Linked DNA regions of Homo sapiens: regions 1 and 3 are each linked to region 2. The links are contacts of gene promoters, found by promoter capture Hi-C in blood cells and fetal thymus (Javierre and others, 2016). All regions are on one chromosome and are shown on one strand. The core of a region is centred on a gene start or on the middle of the fragment in contact, and the rest is flanking DNA. Distances in the headings are between cores, read along the strand shown.

Evidence for each region. The method cuts DNA at HindIII sites, captures the fragments that hold promoters and counts their contacts. A CHiCAGO score of 5 or more calls a contact.
Region 1: a fragment that was not itself captured here is called in contact with the fragment with the promoter of EML6 in region 2 in 1 of 17 cell types (fetal thymus); the score reaches 5.3 in fetal thymus.
Region 3: a contact is called between a fragment that was not itself captured here and the fragment with the promoter of EML6 in region 2, in 1 of 17 cell types (monocytes). The highest score is 5.4, in monocytes.

What each region holds. Positions count from the first base shown.
Region 1 is chr2:54,554,673-54,559,031 of GRCh38, reverse strand. The region is part of intron 2 of SPTBN1 (spectrin beta, non-erythrocytic 1); the gene reads right to left. It overlaps SPTBN1-AS1 (SPTBN1 antisense RNA 1), which reads left to right and starts at 327. Exons shown (of 4, transcript NR_185881.1): 1 at 327-1,364. RefSeq lists a silencer at 790-929. The HindIII fragment of the contact is 5,081 bases long and covers 1-4,359 here.
Region 2 is chr2:54,720,897-54,725,154 of GRCh38, reverse strand. It overlaps EML6 (EMAP like 6), which reads right to left and starts at 1,493. Exons shown (of 42, transcript NM_001039753.4): 1 at 1,378-1,493; 2 at 1-606. The coding sequence starts at 93. RefSeq lists silencers at 290-439, 1,111-1,600 and an enhancer at 1,741-1,960. The HindIII fragment of the contact is 5,681 bases long and covers 1-2,030 here.
Region 3 is chr2:54,522,307-54,526,862 of GRCh38, reverse strand. SPTBN1 (spectrin beta, non-erythrocytic 1) reads right to left here. Exons shown (of 36, transcript NM_003128.3): 2 at 297-491. The coding sequence starts at 444. The region is part of intron 3 of SPTBN1-AS1 (SPTBN1 antisense RNA 1); the gene reads left to right. Among named protein-coding and RNA genes, the nearest start is that of SPTBN1-AS1, 34 kb to the left of the region's middle. RefSeq lists an enhancer at 1,974-2,143. The HindIII fragment of the contact is 479 bases long and covers 1,226-1,704 here.

The DNA of each region.
Region 1 (4,359 bases), core at 1,062-3,561, 170 kb after region 2:
AAGTCGTGAATGGGGTGCCCGCAGCCAACCACAGGGTCTGGGGCCGAGCTGTGAAGCCGCCCGTCTTCATTAGGGTCACAAATAAAGCCTCCAAGAACCCCCGTTGGCACCCAGGACAGGCCCGGCCTTTGGGAGGGGGCTTACCTTGCAGCTGCTTGAATCTGCCTTCCAGCTGGTTGTAGTTGTAAGGCACCTGCCCCGTGTACGCCGGCGACAGCGGCCCGGAGATACTAGACGTCCTCTGCAATTCCATTATGCCCGGCGTAACGCCCCGGAGGACTGCGCCCTGGAAATCTCGCTCCAGCCCCCTCCCACTCCCATCCAACACGCAGCAGCCTCCGCAGCGCTCGGCTCCTTAGGCGAGCCCCATTCCGGTCTGCAAGTCCAGCAGGGTGATCTGATGGGAAGTTGGCTGCAAGAGAGTCCACCTTAGCTCCGCGAGGAGTTACCACACAGGCATCTAATTTCTTGCTTTCCCTTCTTCCGTGGCCCTTGCCTGGAAGCTCGAAATAAATTACTGAGGAGGAGGGAGAAGCAGAGAGGAGGCGCAGGTTCTACTTCAGAACTTTTAAATATGGCCAATCCTAAGCATGCCACGGTTGCCGAGCCCGGGAGCTCGCGGGCGCAGCGCGCACACCTCCTCCCAGCTGCCCGCGGCGGCCGCCGGTTTGTAATTTTATCAGGAGCCACTCGCCGTGTGCTGGGCGGTGATGTCACCTGATTAGCATAACAGCATTGTATTAGAAATGCAGGCTATACCACGAGGAGGGGCGCGGGGGAGCCTAGCCGGCCCGCGACCCCCTACCGGTCCCGCACGGTCCGCGGTCGCCCCAGCCGCCCGGCAGCCGCCGACCCCCGGCCGGGCCCTGGACTCGCCGCGGTAGTGCCTTCCCAAACAGAGCTGCTGGAATTACAATCTTTTGTTGAGCCTCATGTAACGGAAAAGTCTCCGATTACTATCACTTGAAAAGGCTAGCGCGCCCACGGGACGGCCTGGAGAGTGAAGAGCCCCAAGGGTCCCGGGCCCGCGCGGCTCATTCACTCTCTAGCGTCTGCTGAGGTAACGCGGCCCGCACCTGGGCGCGCGCGACTGCCCCAGTGCGCTGGCGCCAACCACGCGGCGGCGGCCCGGCGAGCCACCGGGAAGAAGTCAGACAAAGTCACTCTCAGGGCGCTGTGCAGCGCCACAGCCAGGGGAGGTGTAAGTTCGGGCTCAGTGAAGAATCTCGGCTGACTTACGCTGCCATCAGGGGATATGAAGGCGGTGGTTTCCTGGAATAACACGGGCCTATGATAGGAATTCGACGCAAGGAAGATTTATGGGAGCACCGATTTGCAAGGCATTGTGGGAAAAAGGTACACAGGTAAACACCGCCGAGATCCCTGACCTGGAGTTGTTTATGATCCGGAGGGGAGATGAGGGAACCGAAACTACCCTCAAATTCCTACTCTGATTTGTAAAACAAGGCCTCTAAACTTGTGGTTCTCCAAAATTTTAAATCTCTCCTTCCCAGCTTCTTCTCCCACCAATCTCAACCAAAAATGAAATCTTCCACATAGAAAAGAGAATGATCAAAATGTATTCTTGGGAAATTGACTCTAGATCTCCCCCCTCTCTCTCCACCCTCCTGTCCCCCCTTTTTCCTCACTACCTAAACAGGCAGACAACAAATTACACTTTTGGCATTTCCAGTTTGGAGCCCTACAGCAATACTCACTGAAGAAGGTAATTTCATTCCTCAGGGATCCCAATATGTAGTAAAGACGTGGTCCCCCACCCCAGGTTCACCTCAGTCCCCAGGGCACTTGTAATTGAAGTAACTGCATCCTGTCCAGGCTTAGAATTAAACCCAGAGCCTAGCTAACTGCTCAACGCTGAACAACCCCCAACTCCTTCCAGCCACATAACTAGGTTTTTAATACTTCCACATGTCAACCTTTGGCTTTTGAAAGCCAGGCCCAACCTGAAGAAGACAACATTTCTTATCATCTAAGATGTAGAACATTTTTTAAAGCCCCTAAGTGCTGCCAATTCACAATGCTGATGGGAGGCTAGGCAGAGCATTACAAAACACTTGGTCTTGGAAAAAGCACTTGACTAGGATTCCCAAGACCTGAGTTGCTAGTCCTGGCCAAGCCTCTTAATTACCCTATGACCTTAGAAGAAACCCTGGATTCTTTCTAAACCTCAGCTGTCAGACTGAGTAATAATTAATGCCCACCTCCACAGGGTCACTGAGGAGATGATGTGGAAATGTTCTAAAAATTATCATACTTTCAAAATTAAGAGTATATTCTTCAAAATGCACCCCTCCTTTCATCACCCCCCGCCCACACACACAAACACACACACACACACCACATCAAGACTACAAGAGAAGTTGAATTGGGAACCGTCTCAATGAAGATCTTTTTAACAAGCCCTTTTTCACAACTAAGTATACTGGTGAAATGATAAGTCTCTAAGTGTCCAGCTATGGCACTGAAAATGAGATTACAAAGTGCTTTGCCAACTTATAACGTTTTAATCATTGGGCCACTTAATGAAGAAAGGGAGTCACCACTCAGTATCTCCCTTTCAGCTCCCTCTAGTATGGGTTAGTACATGAAATAATTTTTAATTAACCAGGTTGCACATAATATGATGGCAGTAGAGCTGGGACGAACGTAGCCACACTCAATCCTGTGAAGCCAACACTGAATGAACCAGGCAGAGTGAACACATGCAAGTATTAGAAAGGTTTGGACACTGGGGAAGGGTTTAATAACCCCACGGGGATAAGAAGTAAGAAATGGGAATCCATTTGGTGTGATGGGACCAGGGAAGAATAAGACAGATCCCTGATGGCCCATCTGACCACCTCCAGTTCAGAAGTGGGGAGGAGGTAAAGGAAGGCCAGAGGTATTCATTCTTTATTTCTTCAGTGTTTACTGTTCTGTATTTACAGTATTTAATGTGTGCAAGGCACACTGCCAGGTGTTTTAGAAGATTCAGAAGTGACCAGGAGTGTTGCTAGCCAAAGGAAATGGGACAAATGTGCAAACAGTAAAGTACCAAAAGAATATAGTAAGGGCCAGGGGAGGACAGCTCTAAGAATTCAGAGGACAAGGAGGACACATCTGCCTTTTGGAGAAAGGTAGGTGGGAAGAACTCTAGGAGGGACTGGCATTTTGATCAAACCTTGAAACACAGGTAGACATCAACAGGCTGGAACAAGGGAGAAGCCTCCTCTCAAGCAGCACAGTAAAAGCATGGATGCCCAGGAAACAGCACCAGCAAGTGCTGCAGTTTGGCTGGAGGATAAGGAACCGTCAGGCTGGGAGGAAAGCCCCGAAAAGCAAGTTAGAACTAAGCCTGGTCTGGAGCCACTGGAGACTTTTGAGCCAGGGGAGTAGAGGGTGTGGGCTGGACTCTAGAGATGATTAATCTGGAAGTGGTATGTAAGAATGGGCAGAAAGGAGAGGAAATGAAGGCAGCAAGGTCAACTGGGTGGTTAGTGCAACAGTCCAGGTCAAAGGAGCAATCAAATGAAAAAGAATGGGCTGACGTAAAAATTAATCCAAAGGACTTTGGTAACTAACTGTATGTGGGAGGATCAAAGGAAAGGGACAAAGAAGACTCTCAGGGTTTTACATCTGGCTAGAGGGGTGCAGGGGACAAGTGCACATTTCCTTCTAGACAGGTGGAATCTGAGTTACCTGCAATACCACTGGGTGACATGTCTGGAGCAGTCAGGGATGTGGAACTAGAGCTCAAAACTGAAGATACAGTCCTGAGTGCAGAGGTGGGAGTTGAGATAGTTGTGGGGTTAAATCTAGGAAAGGAAGTAAGAGGCAAGGGGCTAAGCATGGAGCCCTGGGGAAGGCCTGGGTTTGGGAGAAAGAAGAAAAACCAGTGGAGATGCCAGGGAGTTGCAGAATGAAAATCTAAGGAGAGAGACTCAAAGAGGAAAGAGGGTAGATGGTCTTAAGTGTTGCAAAACAAACAAACTAAAAAATAAAACTTAGAGAAAAGGCATGTGGTGTGCCAATTAGCAGGTCAACTGGGTTAATAAAAGCAAAAGCTGGGTTACAGGGAGTTAGAAAATAACGAGAAAGGAGGAGGAGGAGGACGAAGAAGAAGCTATGAAGATGAGACTAGTGAATGAGGGTTATCAGACTCAGGGGAAGATGTTCCAAGGCAGGGCCCAACTGAGTATGTCCTCTGTGCACAGGTTTCAGCCCTAAGTTGGCATAGGTAGGAAAAGGCCAGTGGGAAGATGGCTCAAAGATATGGATGGAACAGATCAAAAGTGCTGTGGGCTGGTGGAAAGACTCAAGTCCAGAGTCAGGGACTCAGGCTTACCCTAATTTCTGAGT
Region 2 (4,258 bases), core at 244-2,743:
CGTGTAGTACAGGTTGTTGCGGCACTGGTGACCCCGGTACCCGTACACCCACTCCAGCCGGAGCTGGCAGCGGGGCGCCGTCCGATCCGCCATGATAAGCCGACCCCGCGCGCCCCCCGCCCCCCCGCGCGCCGGGGCCGTCCTCGCCGAGGCTGGGGCTGCGGCGGACCTGCAGGGGCTCAGCGCGCGGCGCAGGGCGCTGATTTCCGCGGCGACACACAGGCACAGCCCAGCGGGCCGGCCGCCACCATCATCCGCTGCAGCCGCCGCAGACAAGCCGCCGCCGCCGGTGTGCGGCCGCCAGACCCCGCCGGGCGCCGGGCTCCCTCTACCCGGGCAAGGCGGCTCTGGGGGCGCCGGCACCGGCGCGCGCGCCTCACTGCACCTGCGGGCTCCGGCCCCCGGGAGAGGCTCTCGGGGGGGCCACCCCGCCTTTTACATCAGGAATCTGCATATCCCAACAGCGATCACCCAGTTCGCTCACTGAAGTTTGCGGTGCGCCGGGGCTTCGCGGCAGGCGGCGGGATTTATTCTGCGATAGCCTTGATTTGACAGGCAACCCGGGTGAGCTCTGCCATCGCCGTCTTTGGATCCGAAATTGACAGTCTATATCCAGGAAGCGAGAGCGAGGAAGAAAGAAACAGATTTTTCGCATAAGTCACCCAATCCAAGAAAATTATCCCCAAACTAAACCAAGTTGGGTATTTTTAAAAATTGTCCCCTACTCCCGCTTTCTCTCTCCAGTTCCATCTCCTTAATGATATGAAATATGCGTAAATGCTGCTGCCTGGCAGTTGCTGATGCGATTTGAAGGAACGCTTGCTGTTTCCCTAATAAGCGAGGGCGAATATGCAATGGTCATTTTTTAGATGCTCCAATTAGTTTTCATGTGTGTGTTTAATAATCATATCCTCCGTGAACCTTCTCTTCACCGAGAAAGCCATAAAGAACTTAGCAGCTCTCATTGATCAGCAACTCCAATCCGCATCATGAAAGATTGTCTTACTCGGAAGAAACGAGGCACTAGTGCAGTCGGAGGGAGTGCGCTACCTACAAACGCTCCTGGTCGAGGAGAAATCAAATAACAAGTGGCAAAAATCGTGTACTTCTCCCCAGAAACCTCTGCGCTAAACACCGGGTCCCACGGAATCCCGGGTCCTGCCCTGAGCCCAGCGTGGAGAGGGGTCGCCCGAGGGACCCGGGGGACAGCAACCCCCCACAGACGCACACGTCCCGGGGGTCGGCGCGCTGCGCGAGGGATGCCCGCCCTCAGGACTGTTCGGCCCGCGCGCACTGCCGCCCTGGCGGCGCCCTGCACTCCTCCCACTCTCGAACCAGCCTCGCCCGCGGAGCATCCGCGCGCTCTCTGCCTCTAACCTCTGCTGCCAGCGGACGCCACCGGCGCGTCCCGGATCCCGCGCGGGCGAGCGAGCGAAATCCTCTGCCTGCCCTCCCCTCCCCGCCTCCCGCACCCGGGGATGGACTTCGTCACTGGGGCGCCGCGGGAGACAGGTTCTTCCTCCAGCCGGGGCTCCGGGGGCGGGGCCACAACGCCGCGCTAGTGAACCTCAGCTGCCGGTTACTAGGCGAGATCTCGCCGCTTGGAAACAGCGACGCCCCGGAGGACTGGGGCCGCCCCCTCCCTCTGCCTGTCCCTGTGGCCTCTTCCCCCGACGCATCCTGGGAAGTGTAGTCCTCTCTGCGCCGGTTAGGGCGGACAGCGCGCGGAAGGGACCACAAGTCCCAGGATTCCGCGCGCCCAGAGGGAGTCGCAGCGAGACCTGTACCGGCGTCAGCGGAGCCTGCGGCTCTCGGGGTGAGGAGATCCCGGCTCACCAAGGACGATTGCCTGCCCACGCGGGCGTTCCCTTGTGACTGAGGCGGGAGCTGGCGTGCGTGGGTCTCTGTAGAGAAAAGCGGTGGAGTTGGAATGGAGACGGTCTCCCAGCCCACCACTGGAATTTCTCCTTCATCGGTCTCTGAGTGTTGCTGTAACCGACATCCTCACCATGCTGTAACTGACTCAAGCTTAAGTTTGTTTCCTACTTAAGTTTTCCTTTTCATTCACATGGATTTTAATTTGTTAAAGTGCAGTTCTGCCAAGTTTAAGAAAAATGCTGGGAATGTGAGCTCACTTCTGCCCTAAGAACCAGCGTCTTCCCATGACCTGCGTCCTAAATTAGAGGACTTGGGTATTTACAGATAACCGGAGGTTGGAAGCAGGAAGGTGCTCACGCCATGAACAGCTAACCTTGGCCTTCAAACGCAGAAGCTGGTGGCATTTCTCCTAAAACTGCCCGAGATGAACTATGAATCCACTGTGTTCTCAAGTAGCCTATTTCCAATTTAGGGCCATAGCTAGTCTTTGGAAAGAGATTTCAAAATCCCAGTGACTAAGAGGCTGCAAAAGGATGATGGATTGGACGTTTGGAACGTCCTTTCCCTCCCATGCTTTCAGTGTAATCGCTTACTCAGTTCATCTCCCTCAAGTTTTAAGACAACCCTCCGACCTGGTAGGAAAGCTCGAAAGAACTGGAAGTGCCAGAGTTTGGATGATTTGTTGCTGCCCGCAGTAATGAGGATTTGAATTGGTCTCATCTTTGTTTTTAAGGAAACAGAATCAACAAATAAGTGAGATGGCACTGTGCTAGGCAACAAGAACACTGCCAAAAACAAAAACACGGCCTGAGAAAGGTTTGAGATAGAAGCAAAAATATAGTTGATCAATGATGTCGTGCCATAAAACAGTGCCAAATGAATTATATAAAGACAGTAAGTTTTTGTTGTTCTTTTTGTTTTGTTTTGTTTTGAGACAAAACAGGCCGTTGCCCAGGCTAGAATATCGTGATCTTGGCTCACTGCAACCTCCGCCTCCTGGGTTCAAACGATTATCCTGCCTCAGCCTCCTGTGTAGCTGGGATTACAGATACGCACCACCACGCCCAGCTAATTTTTGTATTTTTAGTAGAGACAGGGTTTCGCCCTGTTGGCCAGGCTGGTCTCCAACTCCCGACCTCAGGTGTTCTGCCCGCCTCGGCTTCCCAAATTGCTGGGATTACAGGCATGAGCCACTGTGCCTGGCCAGTAAGTTCTATATAAGAATTCAGAAGAGGAAGAGTTTTTCCAGATAAAATACATCAGGAAAAGTTTCATGGAGGAACTAGGAAATATAGATAGAATTGAGATAAGTAAAGATAAATTGAAAGAGCGTTCTACATGCGTTTAGGGAATAAACAAAAGTGTAGATGCAGAAAAGTGGATTTAGAGAACACTAAAGAGAATACCCAGTTTGGTGCAAGGGAGAATTCATATAAGATCAAGAGGACACATGAAAGGTTAGATTGTAGATGGAGCTCAGCATAGGGGTTTGCGCTGTATCCTTAAAATAATGGAGTCATTGATTTTTTGAATAAAAATAAGGGAATAGCAATGAAAGCAGTAATCAAAGCATGAGGTATTAGAAGTCTGGGGTAGTGCTTGAGGCTGCGTTAGAGATAGTGGCAGTGGTCTAGAAAGGAAGAGACACTTTCCAGAGAAAATGTACAAATGTATTGAAAAGAAGTCTCTTAAATAGAAATGGATGGAACATATTCATTTCCTAAATTATCTTTAGTATAACTAATGACCCCCATGCTGTACCAGACTGTTAAATGAGTTGGAGGAGTAAGTCTGAGTCAGCCACTTACAATTGTAACCTTAGGCAAATCACTAAATCCTCTGATCTTTACTCTCCTCATTTAATAAAGTATAGCAGTACTCACCCCACAGGATAATTGTAAGAATGAAACAAAGTAATACATACGTGAAAAGTTAATTTGTAAAGCATTAGATAAATGTTAATTATTACTATATGGCAGTAGATAGTAACCTCTACTTGAAAGTGTCAAATAAGACTGGTAGTGTCCTTTGGAAATAAGCAGTATTAAAAAGCATGAGTAAAACTCATAATATAATAACATTATGTTGTTGTAATGAATAGCAGTTACTATGTTCCAGGCACTATAAATGGTGCTTTACGTGTATCAGATAATTTGATCTTCACCCCAGTAATAATCCTATGAAGTAGTTACTGTTATTTCCTCATTTTACAGATGAAGAAATGAAGGTAAGGAAAGTTTAAGTAACTTGCCCAGGAATGCACAAAATAGTGACAAAGCCTGGATTTGAACTCAGGCAGTCTGACTCCAGACGCTGCTCTTAAATGCTAAGAATGATGAAAGAAATTGTTTAGATGGTAGAGTAAGTTCACCTGTAAATG
Region 3 (4,556 bases), core at 216-2,715, 200 kb after region 2:
TTTGGAATGTAAGATTTGTCAAAAATAAAAGAATTCTTACAAACTTAGGGCAGCTGTTCTTGAATTGCTATAAATAACACTCTGTGCTCTGAATAATTTTGGCCATTAGAGTTGACAGCTCTCCAAATATGGAACTGACTACCTTATAAAATGGTCAGCTGGCTCTCAAGGACACATTTAAATAGAAGTGAGACAACCTTCGAACATGACAGCGTCATGGGAACAGGGTGGATGATTTTAAGGGGCATCCTGATTTTAGGCATCCTGGGCCTCTGTGACAGGTGTGAAGGACTCACCTGCCAGAGCCTTGATGCGGGACCGCTCAAAAAGCCGCGCAGAGCTGTTCTCATTGTCCCAGTCGTCGACATCCCAGCGGTTGTTGACATCACTGTACTGCTGCTGGATCTCAATGTTGTCATAGTCTGTGGCTACTGTGGTCGTCATCTTGAACTGTCTCAGCTGCTCCTCCACATCAGCTCCTTCTTAGAGTTCTATGAGAAAGAAAAGGAAAAACATTTAGACGTCTGAAGTGTATACAGTCCCCACGGAACCAACTGGGATAAGAGTGAGCAGAAAATAAAAACAGTGCTTGCCAAGAATAGGTCTTCTGGAGCAATGCTGGTTTTAGGTTTTAGCACTGTCTCATAATAGATGTGTGACCTTAGCCAAGTTACTTAGTATCTCTAAGCCTCAGTTTCCCCAACCATTAAAGAGGGAAGATACTTCAGAGGTTGTTGACAGGACTGAATGAGATGATGGATACCCCCAAAATGGTGGGTTTATTCCTTCTTTCTAAAGTTTAAACTCTGCAATTTAAAAATGTTATCAGAGGGCCAGGTGCAGTGGCTCACGCCTGTAATTCCAGCACTTTAGGAGGCCGAGGTGGGCAGATCACCTGAGGTCAGGAGTTCGAGGCCAGCCTGGCCAACATGGTGAAAACCCGTCTCTACCAAAGATACAAAAATTAGCTGGGCGTGGTGGCACATGCCTGTAATCCCAGCTACTTGGGTGGCTGAGGCAGGGAGAATTGCTCGAATCTGGGAGGCGGAGGTTGTAGTGAGCCGATATCGTGCCATTGCACTCTTGCCTGGGCAACAGAGCGAGACTCCGTCTCAAAAAGAAAAAAAAAGAAATGTTATCGGAGGTAGATCAACACCTACGTGGGGCTTCTGAATGAACTCATTTATTCCCATTGTGTATCACCATAAATTATAATCTTTAAGCTTCTCCTGGAAATTCATAAAATGTTATATAAGAGAACTAGCAGATCATTTTATCTAAACATCTCACTTACATATTAGAAAACTGATGCTTAAGATTAAGATGTAAGGCCAGGCACAGTGACTCACGCCTCTAATCCCAGCACTTTGGGAGGCTGAGGCGGGCGGATCACCTGAGGTCGGGAGTTCCAGTTCAGCCTGACCAACCCATCACTACTAAAAATAAAAAATTAGCTGGGCGTGGTGGCGCATGCCTATAATCCCAGCTACTTGGGAGGCCAAGGCTGGAAAATTGCTTGAACCGAGGAGCCGGAGGTTTTGGTTGAGCCGACATCATACCATTGCACTCTAACCTGGGCAACAGGAGCAAAACTCCAATAAAAAAAAAAAATTAAGATGTAAGTGTATGGCAACCAAGGACAGTACCAGTGCATGGTAGATGCTCAATACACGCTTGCTATTCTTTATCCTGAACTGATAAGCTTTAAACACAGCTTCTCCCTTCAATATAGCTATTATTCACTCATTGAACCAAAATACAATGAAGACTTACTACGTACTCTGTGCTGGACCAGATGCTAGGGATAAAAATGAACGCAATAAGGACCTGGCTCTAGGGAAGCTTATATCCTAGTGGTAGGAGCTGGACAAAAAGCACACAAGAAAAGGCAAGATAGTTTAAATAAAAAAAAATGACAGCAGAGTCATGTGACTATTTTTAGATCTGGTGATCAGGGAAGGCCTCTCGAGTGGGTCCTGAAACTGAGAACTCAATGTCAAGAGGAATGAGTCACGCACAGATCAAGAATAATAGTGTTTCAGGCAAAGGAAGCAGCATAGCATGCAGGAGGAACGGCAAGTTCAATGTGGCTGAGTCTAGTGGGCAGCGGGAGAGACTCGGAGACAAGGTTAGGGAGGGAGGTGGGCGAGCCCAAGTGTGGCGGGAAGCAACTGCAGGATTTTAAGCTAATAACCGACACCACCCTTGAGTGTATTTGTAAAATATTCTTCCCAGGGCTGTGTGGAAAACAGATTCTAGGCGGCAATAATGGAAGCAGGGGCCACTTGGGAGGCTACTCCAGAAATGATGGCGGTGCAGCTCTGGGTGGAGAAGCGGGGATGGTTAAGAGGTGGATGTGCTTAGAGGTGGATGTGCTTTGGAGGGAGAACTGACAGGGCCTGGTGAAGGACTGACTAGACCCGAGACATTGAGAAACTGAGCTAGTGCTATGCCTGATGCCTATGGGTGTGGTTAAATGTGGTTAAATTCCCGCATATTTTAAATTTCACTGGGGGGAAACAGGCTCAGTCAGGCATATGAAGCTATCTAAGTAAGTTGTTAATCTGCAAATGTAGGAAGAAAGGAGTGAAAAGACAACACCCCTTTTAAAGTGGTATGAAGCTATCCCAAGAAAAAAAATAAATTATCAACATTTTTTTTTTTGAGATGGAGTTTCGCTCTGTCACCCAGGCTGGAGTGCAGTGGCACCATCTCGGCTCACTGCAGCCTCCGCCTCCTGGGTTCAAGCAATTCTTCTGCCTCAGCCTCCCGAGTAGCTGGGACTACAGGCGCGAGCCACCATGCCCAGCTAATTTCTGTATTTTTGGTAGAGACGGGGTTTCACTATATTGGCCAGGCTGGTCTCGAACTCCTAGACCTTGTGATCTGCCCACCTTGGCCTCCCAAAGTGCTGGGATTACAGGCGTGAGCCACCATGCCCGGCTGTTATCAACATCTTAAAACTCAAAAATTTATTGTCAGGTTTTTGTAGCTGGATGCTCACTTAGTGAAAGCCTTGTTCAGTGTGCACCAAGATGTGCACCTAGGCCAGAGTCAGCAGGCCTCCTCACCACAGCCTGCGTGCTAACCAAACCAGACACCACTCAGCAACACAGAAGGATCATTCAAGAGATGATTCTTCCCCCTCACATATGCCACCACACAAAAAATAAACAAACCCATATATGTAGAAAAGAAACATTTATCGTGCTTGAAATGCAGCTTTTTAAAAGTTCCAGCACATAACCACACATGCCACATGCAACCAAGTTTCCATAGTAAATAAGCTGAAACAAATTAACTGCACCTTAAATAAACAGTAGGCTCTTGGGTGGTACCAGCACACAACTGCCTGCTCTTTTGTCATGGCTGTTTTCTCACATGCTATCCAAGAACACAGCCAACACACCCCACATGTTCCTGAGGAAGAAGCACTGAATCCACTTTACCACTGAGCCACAACATCTGTGACTCAAACTGTCACCCATCTCTGCTCTAATAGAAAAATCCTGAATGGAAGTAAAATCCTGGATTCTCATCAGAGAGACATACTCAATCTCAATTAAGTACATTCACGGGTGTATTAATTTTCACACCTACGTTAGCAATTTATTTATGGGATTTCATAAAAACACAAAAACTTCAGAAATCTAATCGAGTAAGTATATTCCATTGAATGATCTTACAGTGGCATTTAACATTCAAAGTCATAAACCCTTCCAAAAAATGAAAATTAATAATGTCATGCAATCATCTGATCTTGAATATAGTTAACTTTCATGACTATTATCAATATCAGAGACTTTTATAAAATTCAAACTTGGAGGATTCTATCTCTAGGGAGAAAATGTGAAAGTGCTATTAATCCCAAATTCTGAAAGTACAGAAAGTAAAATTTAATCCAACCCAACCCAAGGTAAAACCCAAGCAAGGCATGCCTCTCCCCAGATAAGTTTTAGCTATTTGGTGCCACCTGCTGACCAATGAGAAGAAACCCCCAGGGCTGCTATACCTGCGCTGCAACATCCACCGCACCTGACTCCTGCAGAAGCCCAGCCTGGCCCCTGCCCTGCCCCCACCTGCGAATCTCTCTTTCTATCACTGAACCAACAACTGCTTTCCACAGATTTCTTTCTTTCTTTCTTTCTTTCCTTTCTTTCTTTCTCTCTCTCTCTCTCTCTCTCCTCTCTCTCTCTCTCTCTCTTTCTCTCTCTCTTTCTTTCTTTCTTTTTGAGACAGAGTCTCGCTCTGTCACCCAGGCTGGAGTGCAGTGGCATGATCTCAGCTCACTACAACCTCCACCTCCCAGGTTCAAGCAATTCTCCTGCCTCACCCTCCTGAGTAGCTGGAATTACAGGTGTGCACTATCATGCCTGACTAATTTTTGTATTTTTAGTAGAAATGGGGTTTCACCATGTTGGCCAGGCTAGTCTCAAACTCCTGAACTCGGGTAATCTGCTTGCTTTGGCCTCACAAAGTCCTGGGATTACAGGTGCGAGCCTACCTTGCCCAGCCCACAGATTACTTAGTAAGTAAGTGATAATTCTTGTCTTAAG